Linked DNA regions of Homo sapiens: regions 2 and 3 are each linked to region 1. The links are contacts of gene promoters, found by promoter capture Hi-C in blood cells and fetal thymus (Javierre and others, 2016). All regions are on one chromosome and are shown on one strand. The core of a region is centred on a gene start or on the middle of the fragment in contact, and the rest is flanking DNA. Distances in the headings are between cores, read along the strand shown. Region 1 holds the start of CDO1 (cysteine dioxygenase type 1). Region 2 overlaps PGGT1B (protein geranylgeranyltransferase type I subunit beta). Region 3 overlaps CCDC112 (coiled-coil domain containing 112).

The links. The method cuts DNA at HindIII sites, captures the fragments that hold promoters and counts their contacts. A CHiCAGO score of 5 or more calls a contact.
Region 2: a contact is called between a fragment that was not itself captured here and the fragment with the promoter of CDO1 in region 1, in 1 of 17 cell types (total CD8 T cells). The highest score is 5.4, in total CD8 T cells.
Region 3: a fragment that was not itself captured here is called in contact with the fragment with the promoter of CDO1 in region 1 in 2 of 17 cell types (non-activated CD4 T cells and total CD8 T cells); the score reaches 6.2 in non-activated CD4 T cells.

The regions. Positions count from the first base shown.
Region 1 is chr5:115,815,365-115,817,946 of GRCh38, forward strand. It overlaps CDO1 (cysteine dioxygenase type 1), which reads right to left and starts at 1,295. Exons shown (of 5, transcript NM_001801.3): 1 at 864-1,295. The coding sequence starts at 1,033. It overlaps LOC124901049 (a long non-coding RNA gene), which reads left to right and starts at 1,724. Exons shown (of 2, transcript XR_007058908.1): 1 at 1,724-1,807. The HindIII fragment of the contact is 6,274 bases long and covers 1-2,582 here.
Region 2 is chr5:115,252,781-115,255,362 of GRCh38, forward strand. It overlaps PGGT1B (protein geranylgeranyltransferase type I subunit beta), which reads right to left. Exons shown (of 9, transcript NM_005023.4): 2 at 357-475. Among named protein-coding and RNA genes, the nearest start is that of PGGT1B, 8.8 kb to the right of the region's middle. The HindIII fragment of the contact is 658 bases long and covers 965-1,622 here.
Region 3 is chr5:115,278,161-115,280,742 of GRCh38, forward strand. CCDC112 (coiled-coil domain containing 112) reads right to left here. Exons shown (of 10, transcript NM_001040440.3): 3 at 1,487-1,608. Among named protein-coding and RNA genes, the nearest start is that of PGGT1B, 17 kb to the left of the region's middle. The HindIII fragment of the contact is 1,157 bases long and covers 733-1,889 here.

The sequences.
Region 1 (2,582 bases), core at 45-2,544:
CCAGCTTACCAGGGCACCTCACTCAAGTACATCTGGGAAGTAGGGGTCTTTAATTTACATTACAGATCGTCAGAAGCAAGGATAAGATAAATCAGATCATTTGGGGGCTGAAAAAAACGACGGTCGAATATTTAATCTGCGAAACTTGGCAGTGGATTTGAATAAACCCACAGTCGGGGAAGTTAGTTAAATTGGTTTGGGAAAGGGAACAGCAGAAATTCCGTAGTGGCAGCTGACGGCCACAAGACGCTATTTTACATGAGTAAAAATGCTTGCTATAAGGTGCCCGGTTGCAGGCGACCGAAGGCGCAGTGATGGAGAACTGACGCGGGTGACTTGTCTTCTTCAACATCACACACTTCTCCCGATGGCTGATGTAGTGCTCCCCTGGGAGCACCCTCTGCTAGTCCGGCCAGACGGTTCCTTAAGGTGTCAGGAGGGCCCGAACCTGAGTGCGGTCTCTCCGCATCTCCGCGCCCGGGGTTAACGATGGCTTGGGAGTGTGGGCATTGCTCCCGAGGCCAGGGGCAGGAGGACTGGTGGTTTAGAAGCAGAGGGGTTTGCGGGAGAGAAGAGAACAGAAAATCTCGCAGACGCGCGGTGGCCTCCCTTCCCGGCGCCTGTCCGCCGTTCCCGGCCGGAGGTCAGCAAGGCCAGTAGGATCCACCTTCCGCCTGCGCTGTGGCCGCGGAGCCCCAAGCGAGTCGTGCCAGCCCCGCGGCTGGCCAGCGAGGGGGCGAGCGGCGGACGCAGCGCGGCCCGAGCTTCCCGAGCCAGTCACTTTGGGCTGCGTCCCCCACGTCCATTCCTCCTCAGACGGGGCGAGTGGGCGCCGCCTGGCATTGAAGCTGCAGCGCGCTCACCTGTACTGGTCGAACTTGGCGTACATTGCCCACTCGGTGGGGTCGCTCTCGTAGGCTTCCATGATGGCCTGCACCTCCTCTACATTGACCTCATCGCCGGCAAAGAGCTGGTGCAGGATGCGGATCAGATCAGCCAGGGTCCGTGGCTTCAGCACTTCGGTCTGTTCCATCTCGTGGGGAGCTGGCTGCGCGCGCGTCTCACTGCTGGGCTGCGGTGGAGGAGCTGAGCGAGCCAAGGAGCTGGGGGCGAGGGAGCCTAACAGCCCGCTAGACCGCTAAGCAGACACACACGCACAAACCCAGCATTAGAGTGCCGAAACGTAAGGATGTCGTCGCAGAGACAGCAAGAGACCCACCCCCAGGCCCCTGGCAGCGCAGTGGATCCGGGATCGCTGGAGACGCGGTGCACACACAAATCAGGTTCAGATCTGTGGGGTTCATCCTCCCGGGCCCCTTTTAAGCGCTTGGAGTCACTAGGAATGTACCAACGGCCCTCGGAGGGAGGACGAGGCGGAGAGCCACCCAAGAAAGGTGGCGGAGGCGGGGAGACCCTGCGGGCACGGCTCACGCGCACATCCCCGGCTTCCCCGGGCTCCGCGCCTTCCCAAGAGCCCCGTTGTCTCCGGCGTCCCAGGGATCGCGTGGGCTCCGCGCAATCTCTCCCCCACTTTAACGGCGCGTTTTAGCCGCCCGGCCTAACGCCTCTCCCCGCTCCACCTCCGCCGCTGTGGTTCGCGACGCTGGGACGTAGACAAAAAGGGTCGGAGGAGATGGCTGCGGGGACTGACGCTGAGTAAAGGAGGAAAAGAAAAGGGAAGGAGAGGGACACTTCTTCCAAATAGAGAATTGTGAGGAGCCTGCGAAAATTGAGGATGGATTCCACTCCTAGGCCAGAGAGTGCCTGTTTTGTCGATTGAAACTATCCACGATATGCCCCAGGCTAGGTGAAAATAAGTCCAAGACTTTATATATATATATATTTAAGTATACACACACACATATTTTTTAAAATGCGTACTGAAATATATTTTGACAAAGGAGACTCGGGTCTCTAGTAAGACAATTAGTGAAATGATGGAAAACCAAGAACTCTTTGATTTTAAAATCAAATATTTTCTTTTAAAAAATATCCAGTGCAAATAACCTGATATTTCATTTGATGGTGTAAAAGGGGGCTTTTTCTGAGGGGATAGGGCGGGCTCTGACGCAATAATTTAAGAGGCTATAATTATATTTGAATCTTTCAACCTTAGGCATGTGCTTGAAGGAGCCTGCTAGTACATACATATAAGGAAACACGTTTCTACGTCATGCATAGCACCTAGTACGTTGGGAACAACACAAATCAAGTACAGTAGGATTTAAATGAGAAAGATGTGAAAGGTGGAAGAAATGCAAGTGTAGATTTCTTCCTTCTCATTATGGATGGACGCAGGGAATAATTTGGATTTAAGGTTATTAAAGTTCTAGACTTCTGAAGACCTGTTTTTTTCTAGACTATGATCACCCTCCCTCGTGTATATACATGTATACAATGAAATTTACTTGTGCCAGGTAGTCTTAAACATCTCTGGTAAAACTCGCTACATTATATTCTAACAGTGTTGTTAAAAGCGGAATCACCTATTGTTCAAAAATGGCTACAAGTAGAAAGCATTCCAGAAGCCAGCCTTGGTGATGTGTGTTGCTGCGGGGTAGTGAATTAACAAAGTATTTTGT
Region 2 (2,582 bases), core at 44-2,543, 560 kb before region 1:
AAAGACAAGAATTGTTGGGAATGAAAAACAGAGTTAATGCTACAGAACTAATCAAACATAAATACTGACTATAAATAATCAACAAGTAGTCATCAAAGTGGAAGTATACAACATAGTATGGTGCCACAACTGTGAATCTCTATTAAATTCCAGATAACTCTAAATTGTTTTCTTGAGATTATGATCAGATTTGTTAAGTACTGTATTTCAACAGAATGGCAATGCTGCATTACAACAAAATCACAGATAAATAAAATATGTTAACAGTATACAAGTACTAAGATTTTCTAGTCCAACACATGTTATGTCAGGTACAACCAGTCACACTAAAAATAAAATGCTAAAAACTCACTCACTGTCTTCTGTGGGAAGGACCTGCAGGGAATAAATCCACTCTATTATATCATCTTTGTTCACCACATCTAAGGAATCCAACATATCCAGCCCGGAGAGTGCAAAAAATGCAATTGTCAACCTAAAAGAAAAAAATGTAAAATTCCATCTTAACTATCATACCACTTAAGTCTGAAGTCTTCCTGGTCTAGAAAAATAATAAAATCATTCTAATTTTCCAATAATTTAAACAATACTTCCACCTTGCAAAAGCAAAAAATATATATATACATATTCTTGTAACTTAATACTATCAGTCAAGCCTTTTGTTTCAATTTTTCAAAAGGGGACATTTGGGGGTTAAGAAACCAATCCTACCCCATTGACACAAACAAGACCCACTGAAGCCAGAATATCACCAAACTGAAGGCTAAAGTAGATTTAAAAAAGGATTCTCTACAACTAATCAGTACAAATAGTACAGGACTTAGAAATATGTGAAAATGTCAATTTTCACTAATTTGTCAGGATCAATTATAGCTTGTATTTAATTCTGGAGGAATATGAGAATAATGTCTTAATTCAAAGGTGTTCACAAATAACATGATTCCTTGGGAAAAGATTTATAATAAGCTTTGAGAAATATAAAACATTTAAAAAAATACAAATGTACTTACACTCTATTTTCCCAGAGAGGAGCATTCTTTGGCAGAATGAAAAACTATAGAGCAAAACCTTCCCCCTCTGAAACTGTACACTATAAATCAGAAATCTAAACCTGTGCTTTCATATAAAAATCAGTATCTTACCGATGGCTTTGAACACAAAGAATTTGTTATATATAATTCCTTTCATGTTGAGAAGCAGTCTCTAGTATAGCTTGATTGAGTACTGTTACATCATTTCCATAATCTAACAATTCATATGACTAATAGTAATAAATTAACACTTCAAATTATCTGGTCTAAAATTTTACAGCAGAGCTACCTGATGTATTCTGTAATCTTTTCAATGAAGATTCTAAGAAATAGTTAAGCCTTAATGTCCTGAGGTATCCACTGTATGTAATAAATTTACTTCTCTCCTGTGCATCTAGAGTACTATTATCTAGAATAGTACTACAGGTTGAGTATCCCTTATCTGAAATGCTTGGGACCAGAACTGTTTCAGATTTCAGATTTTTTTTTGATTTTAGAATATTTGCATATACATGAGATGATACCCCACTGGGACAGGACCCAAATCTAAATATGAAATTCATTTAAATTTCATATACATCTTACACACGAAGCTTATTTTATATAATAGTTTAACAATTTTGTGCATGAAACAAAGTTAGTGTTAAGCACTTATGTGTGGAATTTTTCACTTGTGGCTTCATGTCAGTGCTCAAACCGTTTCTGATTTTGGAGTCTCTCAGATTTTTGGATTAGGGATGCTCAATCTGTACCAACTTTAGGAGAGATGAGAAAATAGTGATTTCTTCTCTTTTTTTTTTTTTTAAGGGCAAATTATCGCTCTGATCCCTGGTGGAAAAAGACTAGCAGCATCCATTAGATAACAGGAGGAGATATCAGAAAGTAATTTAATTCCAACCAAAGCTTAAGGGCAAAAACTAAAACTACAGAGATTTGGGTGCACTTCAGAAATAAATATTTGGGAAACATCCTATTGAGAGACTATTACCATGTATTAGACACTGAGCTGGGACATTTCTCATATATTATCTCAATTTAATCCTAACAACACACTGAGATCTATTTGAATTAGAGAGGTAATTTATCTAGGTAAGATCAGGATTATATTAAGGGCAGTGGAACTCCTTTATGTGGGAAGCAGTGTTGTACAGTAGTTCAAAGCTCAGACTCTGCAGTCAAATTTCAAGTTGGCCAATTTCACTAGACTGACCACATGACTCTGGGCAGGATACCTAAACTTTTCTAATCAGCTTCCAATAATTATTTTAATCATTACTATACCTTATACAGTAATTGTGCTTACCTACTCACAATAAGCACGCAATAAATGGAAGCCATTATCCTTGGTCTTTGCCATGATTTGGAGGGACAAGAGTAACAACGACTTTAGGATCTAATCACAGTCTATAACACTACAGGCCTTTTCTATAGACTCTTGGTTGTAACCATTTTCCCCAGAGGAATGTGCTTCTCCAAACACAATAAACCTTTAGACATGGGAAAAACCTCTACATAATAGCAACAAAGTGTGAAAATCACTGCCCTTGGTGG
Region 3 (2,582 bases), core at 61-2,560, 540 kb before region 1:
AGTAATTAGGAAAGTGTTTTTTGTTGCTTCATTTTAGCCTTAGTTTGATCAGCTACCAAAATATCACTACAAGGCTGATAATCTTTTTATTTTATTTATTCATTTGGATAGATAGACAAATCATTTAAGTACAATATGACATAAATGCAGACTAAAATTGAGGTATGCTATTGGAGGTAAGGAATAGGTATTTCTACTGCTCAGCTGTAATATATGAAGGGAAAACTTCTCTACACTAAGGCAAGCATTCTTTACTCTCCTAGACAGGAAAAACATAAAGTGTAGTAACACTACACTTTATAAGAGCAAAACTTATAAAAATAACTTAAAAAAATAAGCAAAACTATAGAACAAAGTGAAATAGATTGGTACAAATAAAGTTGCCATAATAAAGGGAAAATCAAGTGACCTAAAATTTGCACAAAATTTTACTTATTGGCATTACTGAGACATAGAAAAATCAGCCTCCCAGTTGTCTACAAAAGAACTGAGGGAAATAAAGAAATATTGAATCAGGGGTGTCTCGGTTTTTCAATGTATCAAAGAAGGAAAATGATTCCTGCCACTGCTTGACAAAGAATCACTTTTTAAAGTAGTGTAATCTTTTCTTTTAAAAAATAGTGCAACCTTGTATTTTGAAAGAAAAAAATCACTAAGAATTTACTTTAATTGATGACAAGGGAGTATCATGAGCAGTCTCATCTCTACATAGTAAGTCTTAATATTTTATAAAGCTTAGTTATTTGATAACCATTATTTTTCCTTTAAGAAATGCTAAGCAGCTTTTTTATTATAAAGATTTTACAACATACAGAATCTAACGCTACAATGAAACAAATATTCTCAAATTCTTTAAGGGTAACATTCAGTACACTATTGACAATGATTAATATTCATAACAAACAAAAGAACATAGTCATGTACAATCTATCTATAAGGTACATTTTTATATATTATCTCATCAGATGCATAGTACGGCTCTCCTGAGGTAGAAATGACAAGTTTTAGAATGTAGACAAGGAAACTCAGGTTTATGCAATTATCTGACTTGATCACTTCACACAACTGCTAATTATAGCTTTGAATCTGTTGATGCTTACTGAGTCCAGGGCTCAGTCAACAATGCCAGGGTAATGAGCTAACATCAGACAGCCCAGAAATCACTCTGCTTTTAAGAAATTTTAATAGAATTTGGTGGTGTGTCAACCAAAAAAATCCCCCAAATCCTCTCTTTCTTGTTATATTGGAAAAAATATACAACAGAAAACAATCCAGTTAGTATGACTAAATAGTGACCCGAAAGAATAAACATGTCCCTAAAAGACAAATTTTACCAACTAAAATACAGAGAATATAACACAGTCAATAGAGAACTGACTCTATTGATAGAGAACACAATACAGTCAATGCACAAAGACAAAGCACAGGGTAAAACTACAACTTTATATCGCTCAACAGTTTTTAGTTCATCACAAACTCAACTTACTTTCTGTTTTCCTGCTGTGAATCAATTTATTTTCCAATTCTTCTAGCATACTATGCTCAATTCTGAAGTCACTTTTTTGGTTGTAGAAATGACTGTGTTTATCTTTTTCCATGTTAATTACTCTTTAGGAAAAGAAACAAATAGTATAAATATGATCTAAATATATTTTTAATAGTTTAAAATATGAAGACACTCAATAATCCGTATTTTATATTTGGATTAATTCATCTATGGAATAAAAATAATTACTTTGGTTAATAAGGCTAAGGAATCAAAACATTAGTCAAAATAATAGCTAGAAGAGTTAATTTCAATCAAACACAACTATAATTTGAACTGCTATGTAAATCATAAAATGATAATTTAAGAAAATGTGGATATACATTTGCTTTGAAAATGCATAAGCTTTTGACTATTGATTCCAACTCAATCTCACTGGAGCCTGAAAATGGCCATCACTGCTGATGACTGCTTTCAATAGTAGATACTATTAATTTTGTAACCTTAGCCAAGATGGTTAACCTCTCCAGGTATGAACCTCCTCATCACTAAAATGTGAATAATAACAGCTCTCCACTATCTAATAGGGCTATTATTCACATCAAATGAGATAATATATGTGGGAGATCTCTGTACAGTACAAGTATACTATGGAAATGCCAGTTATTAATATTATTAATAAAACTAAAACTTCGAGAGACTAACCATCTACAAAGACAGGAAATTTCGGGTATTTAATGACTATTGTCTACATTTACTTCAGGCTTCTTTCAGCACATCTTTGCCCCTTGAATTTAGTCTAACAGTAAGGAGTTCTCATTGTTAGTTTGCACCCTAAGAGAAAACAAAAATAAAATAAAACACTACTGAGAAACTTTTTTGATTGGGCAAAGAAATCAATTCTCAAATTACCTTTTTTTTTTTGAGACAGGGTCTGGCTCTGTCACCCAGGCTGGAGTGCCATGGTGCCATCTCAGCTCACTGCAGCCTTGACCTCCCTGGCTCAAGCAATCCTCCAACCTCAGTCTCCTGAGTAGCTGGGACTACAGGGGCACACAACCACCATGCCCAGCTAATTTTTTTTTTTGATAGATAT